Linked DNA regions of Homo sapiens: regions 1, 2 and 4 are each linked to region 3. The links are contacts of gene promoters, found by promoter capture Hi-C in blood cells and fetal thymus (Javierre and others, 2016). All regions are on one chromosome and are shown on one strand. The core of a region is centred on a gene start or on the middle of the fragment in contact, and the rest is flanking DNA. Distances in the headings are between cores, read along the strand shown.

Region 1 (2,792 bases), core at 61-2,560, 560 kb before region 3:
ATAACAAGCACTTCATATTCTATTAATCCTAAAAATCTATAATTCCAGCATGAAAATATACAGGAAAATATTTTCCTAATATTTCCAATAAATACACACATACACACACATTAAAACTTAATATTAAGATGTTAAGTTTGATTTCCAATGAACTATTTCTCAGGAAACACCCATTACGATGATTTCATATGTACATTTTCCTTTATTAAAAGTATGGCACTTTATATAACAGCAGAAATAATTACATGATTTCACATCCAGAAGCAATAAAATGTGGAGGTGCAAACATTCCTTATTCCCAATAAAAGTAAAAAAAGTTTCAACATGTTCTGTAAGCCCTTAATTGCATAAAGTATATTTAGCATCATTTACAGCCAGTACACTTATATAAACTAATTATCATTACCTTTTACATTCTGCAAAAGAAATATGTTAAAGTAAAGAAGCATGGCGAGACAAACATGAATTAAATGTCAGTTCTGATCATTCATGGGGAAATATAAGCCGATAATTATAAACTACTAGATAACACAATGATTTTAACAATTTTTGATGTTTTTAAAGTTAAAAAAACTCCACTACATGCCATATTGAAAGAAAAGGTTGTTTTTTTTTTAACTGCAGCACCTTTAGACAACAAAAGATTGCATCCTGTTCAACCACACTATATAAATTATAACATTTGTGGAAAATATGTACACACAAACATAAAGCAAGTGTTCTAACAGTTAATAAATGTTGTCTTGGCAAGCAGTTTCCAGAAACAATACTAACAACTGGTAATAAGAACTGCCACCATTTTGAGTTTTCCGTTGCTATCTTCATCAAACAGGAAGCCTGTAAACATAAGATGTTAAAAAAAAATTTAAATAAAGATGTAAAGTGCACTCAGTGCACTCTAAAAAGTACTACCTTCACACTCTTAGTCAAGTAATAGGATTAAAATACTCTACCATTTCTTAAATGCACTGAGTACAACATAAAATTACAACAAATTCATGATCAGAGCCAGCTGATGAGAAAATAACGCATCCAAGAGGATCCACTTAAAAAAATGACAGACTACAAAGACTTAATTCCCCTTATGTTTAAACCAATTATATGTCCAGTGTTTCATTAGCTCCTTCAAAAATACCATGTTAAAAACATAAAATTAACTTCATCCTAACCAGAGACATACATAGACTCTTATCTAACAAACTGCTAAGCTTTGGTTATATAAAGTGCAGTTCAATGATGTATCATCCCAATCATTCAAATCCATCCAGCTATTTTGCAGCTCACCACCATCTTCAAAATAGTTTTCTTTTAGATTCAGTTAAGGTTTTCCGTTGGTATTCATGTTCATAACAACTCCAGAATTCTCCAAGAACAATCTGCAATGTGCTTAACAATTCCTAGCTAATTGGCAATGAAGCTTAATGAAGTACAGCAATTTATTCGTGCTACAACACATTCAAGATCTACCTTTTTTTTCGTTAAATATCTTCACACTTTTTGTTGCATAAAATTTTCAAGTTTTATTATGATACAGGCAGTACATTCCATCACCCTCATAGCAACCTCAGAAGTGAACCTGTCATTTGGGATCTGAGGAAAGGGAAGCAAATCAGGGTATCTTGTTTTTAAACTGTCTACACCATAAGCTTCCAATGTGTGAACATCATTTGTCAGTCCTTCAAGTTGCTGACTATATTCCTCTATTTTCTGAGCAAGTGCAGTTGGTTTTACATCTTTATCAGACTTTCCCCTCACAGCATAGTCAGCTGCAATCAAAGCTAACTTGGTAGAAAGGTAACATTTAAAGCACACCCACTCATTGGCATTTTTATGAAGGTCATTCCTGGCAGCTGAGAAGTTTGCTCTGGCTTGTCTTAGCCATCTGCGTGCTTCCACTGGATTGCCAACCGACTTGAAAGTGGGAGGAACAAAGAACCTTTGAGAGTAAGTCTGTCCGGCTGAAGGGGGGCATTTTTCTTTGTTCTGTTGCTGTCTTTCAGATTTATGGCTCGTTGCTTCTTGATTCCATGAAGTATAGAATCTCTGAAATGAGTATTTGTCTGACTGAAATCGGGATGCTGAGGTTGAAAATGTTCGTCTGGAGGCCCTGTCTGCATTTTGATCTAGAAAAGCCTGTTTTTCTAATCTGTTGATTTCATTCTGCAAATGTTTAAAAACTTCATTGGCAATGTCATGGTTCTCTGGATTTTTGTCAGGATGCCATTTCAAATACAACCGCCTAATAATCTTTTTTCGTTCCGATTCTGGAAGCTTCCATGCTTGCTCCACCACAGATGTCACTTCTTTTAAGATTTCTGGTAAAGAATTAACCTTAAGCTTTTTGGGGGACTGATGTTTGGAAGAAGTCTTGTGGCTCTCTCTACCAGAGAAAAGAGGAGGAATGCTTCTCAGGCCAGGGGTGAGGAACTCAGTGGGGCTGGTTGGTGTAGAAGGAGCACTGTCCCTGCTTTGAGAGCTTTCCTCAGGTCTTGAAAACTTATACAGATCAAGAGAGCTAACTATTTTATATTCACTATAACCAATATCTATCTGATATATCTTTCCTAGAAAACTAGAATTGTCAGCATCTTCTCTTTCAACTTCTTGTACAATAATTGCATATGTGTATGTTGGCTGGTATGATCCATAGATATCACCACCTTCAGCATCAACAAGGTACCCAACATATTCTCCCGGGTAAAAAACATTCATTGGGTCCATAAGCAGAGTGTAATGAATTTCAGCAGGAATTGGTGTGCCAGGCATTGGAAGTTCCAGTTTTGATGGCTCCG
Region 2 (2,700 bases), core at 105-2,604, 520 kb before region 3:
AGCGATTCTCCGGCCTCAGCCTCCTGAGTAGCTGGGATTACAGGCGTCTGCCACCACGCCCAGCTAATTTTTATATTTTTAGTAGAGACGGGGTTTTGCCACGTTCGCCAGGCTGGTCCCAAACTCCTGACCTCAGGTGATCTGCCCACCTCAGCCTCCCAAAGTGCTAGGATTACAGGCGTGAGCCACCGCACCCAGCCAGAGGTATACTACAATTTATGAACATTCTTTTTGACACCAAAGCTCCCCGGAGTAGAAGTGAGATATTAGGAGTCTATTGGTTAGGGTTCTTATTGGATTAATAATTTATTAGTTTATGGCTTTCTTATCATGTTTCCTTTCATTTTCCTTGTTCTCTCCTCTCCTTCAATCTTTCTTCCCACCCAACTTCCAAACAATGTCGAGGGTACTCCTAAAGCGGAAAATACACAAAAGCATGGCCTTTCACAACATCTTTCCAAATGCAGGAAAGTGTTACTATACATAAATGGTGTCCCTTTATCCTACTGATAATATAAAATACAAGTTGTTTGAATAGAATAAGAGGCTTTGGTCATTACATTGCTTGTCATTTTGAGTTTTCAGATTTTATTCTTTGTTCTCTAAAAATACCAACTGGTGGAGACACCTTCCCACCAAAAGCAGAGAAAAACATCTGAAGAAGTGGACATAAACATGCCAAAAAGTACAAATGATAGACTGTTCATTAAACAAAGCATTATTAATCATTAAAAACTGCCTGTTAGTGCATACAATAAAATTTGTTCCTAATTATTGATTCTTACCCTGATATGGCGCCATATCTTTTGACCAAAGAGTCTCTGTTCCGTATTGAGTTTCATCATATAAAAATTTAACTTCTGTCGCCCCAGCATCTTCTGCATTCTGAATTAATTCCTAACCAAAAAATATACCAAAAAATAGTAATTAATAACACAGTAATCTACTGCTCATCTTTGTATTTATCTATAATATTTAAGAAGTTAATATACTTAAATAAAGGAAACCCACTATTTGCAACATTACCTTTAAGATCTGGTGAGGCTACTACTGAAAGTAATTGTTACATAGATGTGACAGTATGGTTGAAAAGTCCTTCTCCAATTATTTGCACTTAAATTTTGTCTTTTAATTTGCTATCACTTAGCAAATTAATCCTGGGCCCTATTTATAACTGTCTCATATTTACAATCTACCCAAAGCTTTTGTTCAAAGGAAATTATTCTATTTCCAAAAGCTGCACATATCGTCCTGTGTGGCAGGTAACTTAAGCTTGAGTGATTGCCAAAAATAGACCTTTTTTATCCTTTGCTTACTAAACTTACCTTTCCACAGAAAAACAATAAAACCAAATAGTAGCAATCTATATATACCCTTCAATTGGCTGCTTTCTTGAGAGCCTGAGATATAAAAATGTCTTTGTCCTGCACTAAACTGAAAGCTTCCAGATGGTCAGGACTGACTCATTCCTTTCATCAAGAAGAAAGCACTACCATTTGTTTGGTGAATGGTGGGTGAGTGGAAGGGTGACCAGCTCCCCGTAATGTAGAAAGGAAAGGGCAAACTGCAAGATTTGCCTCAACAAAATTTCCAATCCTAACAACCCCAATCACTTCTGCACACCTACTAAAATCACGCTGGGCTCCGTTCAGTTTGAAGGGAGCTCCAGAATCTGAATCAAGAATCAGCTCCTAGATCCAACCCCATGATCATCAAAAGAGCTTTTTTACTTCCCCAGAGCCTTGGGATCACTAAATTGGAGGTACAGATGGGCAAAAATTGAAGAGCACTTTAACTGATACTACAACAATGTCAACAGTGATGCCTACATCAGAGTAGAGAGGTGGTACGATGACTACATGAAACAAAATAACTACAAGGAGACTGAGGGAGCAGAAGTGAAAAGTCAGTTCTGAGATTGTGCTCAGTTCACCCAGTGCATCCCAAAGGGCTGGAGTGTGGTACCCACCAGCTGTTCCACCCCAAACATGAACAGCTAAGTCGTGCCTCCTGCAGCCTCATTATCAGCTAGTGATTCTTCCTTGTTACGTAACTAACTATTTCTCATGGGATTTTAATTTTTTAGGCCTCATTCAATCCCAGAGAATCCCTAAAAATTAACAATCTTATTTACATTAGGATATTATAATAATATGAAGGATGGAAATAAGAATTAAATAGGTAGTGAAAAACAATGTTAACTTACAAAATGATAGCACTTTAGATGTTCGACCTTGTTTTCATTCAGGTATCTATTTATTATTTATGTGTACTTTAGGGAGCAGAGAGGCAGAAAACTAAAGATAAAATCTAAGTCCCAGGTTCCACTCATTCTCAAGTTGAATAAAAAATAGGATAGGAAGCTTTTCCCCTAAATTGCAATCCTGAGAGATTGTTTGTAAACTAACTCTGGGAAACAGCAACAATACATTTTGTATTTGGTCTTGGGCAAGCCACTAAGATCTCTGGACCTGTTTCAGCAAACACAAATACCATAGAAGGTGGTGGTGTAGGTCTTGGTGATTTCTAAGACTCCTATTAAATCTAAAACAGTCTAATTCTACCACAACATCCAAGGAACAAAGATTACATTGAACTGGCTACAATACAAATATATCTATAAGCAAAGCAGAAGGCGCGTAGCCCTCAGCTGTTTGCCATAGACCTTTCTCATTTCTCAGCAAGGATCCCACTCGCTCA
Region 3 (2,700 bases), core at 130-2,629:
AAACTGAATAAGGCTTTTTTTTTTTCAAGGCAAAAATCAATTCTAAAATTTGAAAATCTGCTATCAGTGCCGAATATCATGATACAAAAAGGGAAAAATAAAAGCTAAAATTAGTTATATCTCATCCACCCAAAATCAGGCTTCCCCTCACGTCTTTCTGCTCAGCGCCTACAAGTAGGTCTCTTCACACCAACTATGTTAATACCAACACTACATACCCTTAAGGAAGGTGGTGTAGCAAATTTCACACAAAATAATTTTTAAATAGACAAAACTGATAATGGAGATAAAACAAGAATCACACACTTTAGCTCAGTGCAACAATACCCTAGACTTGTCTTTATAAGGCAATACAGTATAACGAAATTTTAAAAGGCAAAAATAAAAGTAATCCTTAACCTAAAACGGACAAAATGTACAAACTCCAAGTAGAACAGGCATCAGGTAAGTCCTTTCCAACCTTGCCTTCCTCTCACCTTTCACTAGACAACGCAGGCTAGTGACTTCCTGGGGTAAGAAATCAAAGTGACCAATTCCATGGCACTATGGGAAGTGAGACTCGTCTCAACAGAGTTTTGTGTTTTAAAACAAGAAAGCCCAAAGCTTTGAAATAAATTAATTAATAGATGATGGAATTTCAGGTATTAATGAAATTACCATTACTCGACTGCAGGCAGCCGTGTCCTTGCAAAAAGACCATGTGATGCCGCCTGTGAACGCACAGGGATAGGCCTCTTAAGGCAGGACTGTAGCGCTGGAGCTAAAGGGCTTTAGCAGGGGTGCGCCTGAGTGTATGCAGAGGGCGGGTCCTGGCAGGACGAATTCACCGCCACTGCCAGAACGAACTATTCAGATTCACGTGGAGCAAGGGGCTCATGCAGAAGCAGTTCCCGGACCCGACACTCTGGGTAGGAGACCACTAAACCCGGCCCCTCAAAGCAGAGGTGACCTTGCCCTCATCGAGAGCGCACACAAGACGCCACTGTAAAAGGTGGGTTCGCTGCTCGCCTCCTCCCAGGCCCAAACAATCTCGCCCTGATTGTTGCTGGCCGCGCGGAGCAGGGGTCGGCTTAGCTCGGGGACTGAGGGGAGCTCCTCCTGCGCCGCTCACCCGGCGCTCGCCGAACAGGTCCAAGCGGCTGCCCTGGGGCTTGACATTGAAGGCGGCGCCCACGGGAGACCAGCTGGTGCTGACCCTTCGGGCCCGGATCCCGGCTTCGAGGCTTCCCCGGCCCGCCCGGCGGGGCGGCAGAGCTGCTGCTCTGGCTCCCAAGCCGCCCAGCCTTCCGACGCACAGCATTCTAGCACCAGAGCAGTCCCTTCCTCCAACGCAGATCCCTGCCCTGCTGCTTTCGCTGGGAGCGCGCGCTCCGCGTTTCCAAGGCAGCAGCCCACGCCGCCCCACGTGACGGCCCCGCTTCCGGGTCTGGGCGCGGCCTCAGGACGTGGGCACGTTGTCGTCCAGAGAGCAAGAGCGTCGCTCCCCCTCGCCTTCTCGGCCGCCCTCCCGGTTTACCGCCCCCTGTGTCCAGAGTAAGAAAAGGCTAGGGTTGCGCTTCCCTCCCAAGTTGACTAGGGGTGGGCGCGAGTAAAATCATGACATATTCGAATTCCAGTGGACATTAGATATTCTTTGAGAGACGGCAGGTACTTGAGTAAACAAGAAATGCCCACCATAGGCCTGAAGGAGAAGTTTCCCTTTTAACCTACTCTCTTGGTAAATTTATCCTGCACTTCTCTGTTTGGTGTCTCTGTCCGGTAACTTTTTACTCTTGCATAGCTCAGTTAAAAATTTTAGATGGGAAATAGTGAAAGAAGTCTAATGGGATTTTCCCTCCAGGGTTTCAGAATTGCCTGGGACCCGTGAACCCTTTTTTCCTTCCCCTTTCTCTCTTTTGGAATGGATTGTCTACCCTATGCCTGTCTCCCCCTCCAACCCCCGGTCTTTTAGAAGTGGATTAACTCGTCTCGCTTCACAGGATCACAGATGGAGAGACATTTTGCCACACGATGAATCACACAGTAAGTCTCCTCTGTAGCTTATTTAAATGATGTAGATGGTGAGAGGAGTTGATGCGGAAAGTGTTAAGACTTTTGGTAATGTTGACATGGTGCGAAAATGTATTTTGCACATGAGAAGGAAATCAATTTTGGGAACCAGAGGGCAGATTGGGTTGAACTGTGTCTCCCAAAATAGATGCTGAAGTCCTAACCCTCGGTGCCTGTACATGTGACCTTATTTGAAAATATGGAGTTTGCAATTATGATTAAGATGGGTCATACTAGATTAGGGAAGCTGTTCTTGTAAGAAGAGGAAAATTTGGCTGATACAGGAGGAGGACAGCCACCTGAAGATGGAGGCGGGGACTGGAGTGATGCTGCCACCAGCTGCCAGAAGCTGGAAGCAGCAAGGCTGCATCCTCCTGTATCCCCTTTGGAGGGAGGATGGCCCTGCTGCTACGGTGATCTCAAACTTCCAGCCTACAGAACTGTGAGAAAGTCCGTTTCTGTTGTTTAAAGACTCCCAGTTTGTGTACTTTATTAGGGCGATCCTAGAAAACAAGTAGAGATTCATGTCTGGCAAATAATGATCAAACAATGATTTGTTGGATAGAATGGTGATTAAAACCTAGGTTAGAAAATGAGCAAAATGGGAGGGAAAGCACCAGGACAAATAGCTAATGCATGCAGGGCTTAATA
Region 4 (2,894 bases), core at 92-2,591, 540 kb before region 3:
GTTGGCAAGGAAGCCACATGTATCACACCTGAGGGAGGGACAGAACATGCTGTCCTCCAAACAGGAAAAAGCATGGAACTAAGGGAAGGAGATTAAAAATAGCAAATATCAATAGAACCTTCCATGTACCAGGCATCTTCATAACACCCAGAAAATGGAGCCAGCTAATGAAGTGCCTCATAGGAAAGGTTACGGATTTTGGTCTCATCTAATAAATAAGTATGAAAATTTTAAAAATTATAAATAAGACCCGACACCAAGCATCTGTACCACTAAACTGTTCTTGTTTCCTTTTTCTTCATCCAAAATCCATTTACCTGCTCTTCTAACTATTCTCCAATTTCTGATATCCATCCATTTACTTAAGCAACTTAATACAGAAATAATTCAGACCTGGAAATTAAAAAAACAAAAATCATAGCTTCAACTCTGCAACTCAAGCAAGTCATTTAAATCCCTCAATTTCTTTGAGCTTCAATGTCTCAATCTCTCAAATGGAGATACAGGCTCTATTATCTCATGGTTGTAAAGAATAAACAAGATTACAGAAGACACTGATTTGAAGAGAACTATTAACTCACAGACACTAAGAAAGAGATTTGCCTTTTGGCCTCTGCGCCCCATCTCCTCCATGCGGTCCCCACCCAGCCCAGCAGCTGAAGCATCAACTTATCCAGTCAAACTTGGCAAGCAGGCTCTCGGCCAGACCTTGGAAATATAAAAATAAAGATTGCCCTTGCTCTCAAGGATGTTGCAGTGTAGCACAGTAAAAACATGATTCTAATAAAGCAAAGAGGATCATATGGACTATGTACTGGGTTCCAAGAGCAAAAGAGAGGCATTCACCTCAGACTGCAGGGCAGGGGTGAGGCACAGGGCAAGATGTCAAAGAAAGCTTCCTGGAGGTGACACATGAGCTCAGTACTGAATGATGAATAAACATTAGCTGGGCAAAGTAGAGGATGGAAAGAAAGTATTCTAAGCAAAAGGAACACCATGTACAAAAGGGCAGCTATGAGAAAATTTTCATGCAGGAAAAAAAATACTGAGCACCTACACTGAAGTAGGCACTGTGCTAGATGGTGGTAACAAATCTGACAGGTCTCTCTGCTCTCATGAAATATAGGGAGGATTCAAGTTCATCAACCTACAAGTGCTTGTATAATTAGAACAGAAGAGGGCAATTAGAACAGAAGAGGGCGCTTGCATGCACCAAGGCCAGTGAGACAGCACTCCAAAATCATGGAAGTTTACAATCATGGAAAGTCCCCTAGTTCATGCTAGCAGGGCTAGATTTATCCTGATAGATTCAATGTCCACTGGAAAACCTGCAGCAGGAGGGTGACATGATCAGATGAAGCCCAAGCGCTGTAGACAGGGACATCAACTGCAAGAGTCCAGTAACAACATTACGAGAAATTAGAGGACCTGTAATAGGCAGTGGAGTAAGACCAAGGGACTGGCACAGAAAATTTAGTCAACAGATCCTGGAGACTGTGGGGAACAAAGAAGAAAATTTAAGGATTCATTCTTGAGCAATCTTGTGGACAGTAGTGTTATTTTCAGTGGGATCACTCAAAATGAGAAACAGATTTGGGGAGAGGATGAAGACTAAAGTTTTGCAATATTGATTTTGAAATACTTATGGGATTCCAAGTGCAAAATGCTAACAATAGCTACCATTTGTCAGTATTATATTAAGTGCCGGATATTATGTTAAACTATATGTATTACGTATTCATCATTCGATCTTCAGCATAATGCCTGCTGTGAGTAAAATATTACAATGAAGCTTTCAATAACCTGATCTGCTGCAATAACACAAACTTGGATACAACTCAACTGGCAAGGTGTGGTTGCTCCCATCCTCTGCTCAATCCTTATTTCATTATCCTTGCAGTGAAGCAATCCTGAATTTTCTGTAATCAAATCCTGGGGACCTTGAGATATACCCTTAGAAGGATAGTACTGTATTACCATGTTACTGATGAGGAAACAGGGGCTCAGAGAGGGTAGAAAATTTGTTCAAAGTCACACAATAGAGGAGTGAAGTTTAAGCCCAGATCTGGGTAACTACAAAATCCAGGTTTTTAATCTCTGCTACACTACCTCTCTGAAGACTAGGGTGGTGACTGAAGATATGGTGGTCACTAACACTTTCATGGGAGTGGATGAATGTATTCAAGGAAAGGAACAAAGTAAAAGAGCTGAGGAAGGAGCCCCCACACTAACACGTATTTAGGGAGTGAAGTGAGGAACAGAGGTTCACAAATAATTCTGAGAAGCAGGCAAAATCAGTGAATGCCAAGAAGGAATGGTATCATCATGGCTGAGGGCTTCAAAGAGGAATACCAAGCTTCTGGGAGATCAGGTAAAAGAAACAGAAAAATCCACTGAGCTGAGTAACAGAAAAATCATTAACTAGTGACGTCAGCCAGACTATTTTAGTGGAATGACAGTGGAAGCAAAAGTCTGTTTGGAGTGATAATAAATAAGGAGGAAGTACAGACAATAAGACAACTCTTTCCGGAAGCTGGACTATGATAGAATACAAGAAAGAAAATCAAGGTGGAGGTCTGTTTTGTTTTTCCTGAAATGAAATATAGTGAAACATATTTAACTGCTAATAAAAGGGGCAGTAGAAGTAAACACTAAAAATACAAGCAGTAGCTCAATATTTAGCTAAGGATTTTAAATGTAATACAAGGAAAAGGTACAATTATTAAATAATGTGACAAATTTTGTTTGAGCTACAGAATTAGAGGAAAAGTTTCCATATCAGAAAAAACATATGATGTTTCCATTTTATGCAGTAGTACTTCCAAGACTGGCCAATCAGTGTTTACTGATCACTCATAAACAGAATTCCATAGTGCTCTGTGTCAGCAAAGCAA

The links. The method cuts DNA at HindIII sites, captures the fragments that hold promoters and counts their contacts. A CHiCAGO score of 5 or more calls a contact.
Region 1: a contact is called between a fragment that was not itself captured here and the fragment with the promoter of MIPEP in region 3, in 1 of 17 cell types (naive B cells). The highest score is 5.7, in naive B cells.
Region 2: a contact is called between a fragment that was not itself captured here and the fragment with the promoter of MIPEP in region 3, in 7 of 17 cell types (naive CD8 T cells, total B cells, naive CD4 T cells and 4 more). The highest score is 8.0, in naive CD8 T cells.
Region 4: a contact is called between a fragment that was not itself captured here and the fragment with the promoter of MIPEP in region 3, in 1 of 17 cell types (activated CD4 T cells). The highest score is 5.9, in activated CD4 T cells.

Annotation. Positions count from the first base shown.
Region 1 is chr13:23,328,648-23,331,439 of GRCh38, forward strand. SACS (sacsin molecular chaperone) reads right to left here. Exons shown (of 10, transcript NM_014363.6): 10 at 183-2,792. The coding sequence ends at 1,489. Among named protein-coding and RNA genes, the nearest start is that of SACS-AS1, 89 kb to the right of the region's middle. The HindIII fragment of the contact is 209 bases long and covers 1,207-1,415 here.
Region 2 is chr13:23,364,381-23,367,080 of GRCh38, forward strand. SACS (sacsin molecular chaperone) reads right to left here. Exons shown (of 10, transcript NM_014363.6): 6 at 786-897. Among named protein-coding and RNA genes, the nearest start is that of SACS-AS1, 53 kb to the right of the region's middle. The HindIII fragment of the contact is 169 bases long and covers 1,271-1,439 here.
Region 3 is chr13:23,888,021-23,890,720 of GRCh38, forward strand. It overlaps MIPEP (mitochondrial intermediate peptidase), which reads right to left and starts at 1,380. Exons shown (of 19, transcript NM_005932.4): 1 at 1,112-1,380. The coding sequence starts at 1,300. PCOTH (prostate and testis expressed opposite C1QTNF9B and MIPEP) reads left to right here and starts at 848. Exons shown (of 4, transcript NR_172510.1): 1 at 848-991; 2 at 1,980-2,022. RefSeq lists enhancers at 1,160-1,660, 1,720-1,779. The HindIII fragment of the contact is 13,692 bases long and covers 602-2,700 here.
Region 4 is chr13:23,347,782-23,350,675 of GRCh38, forward strand. All of the region lies in intron 9 of SACS (sacsin molecular chaperone), which reads right to left. Among named protein-coding and RNA genes, the nearest start is that of SACS-AS1, 70 kb to the right of the region's middle. The HindIII fragment of the contact is 897 bases long and covers 894-1,790 here.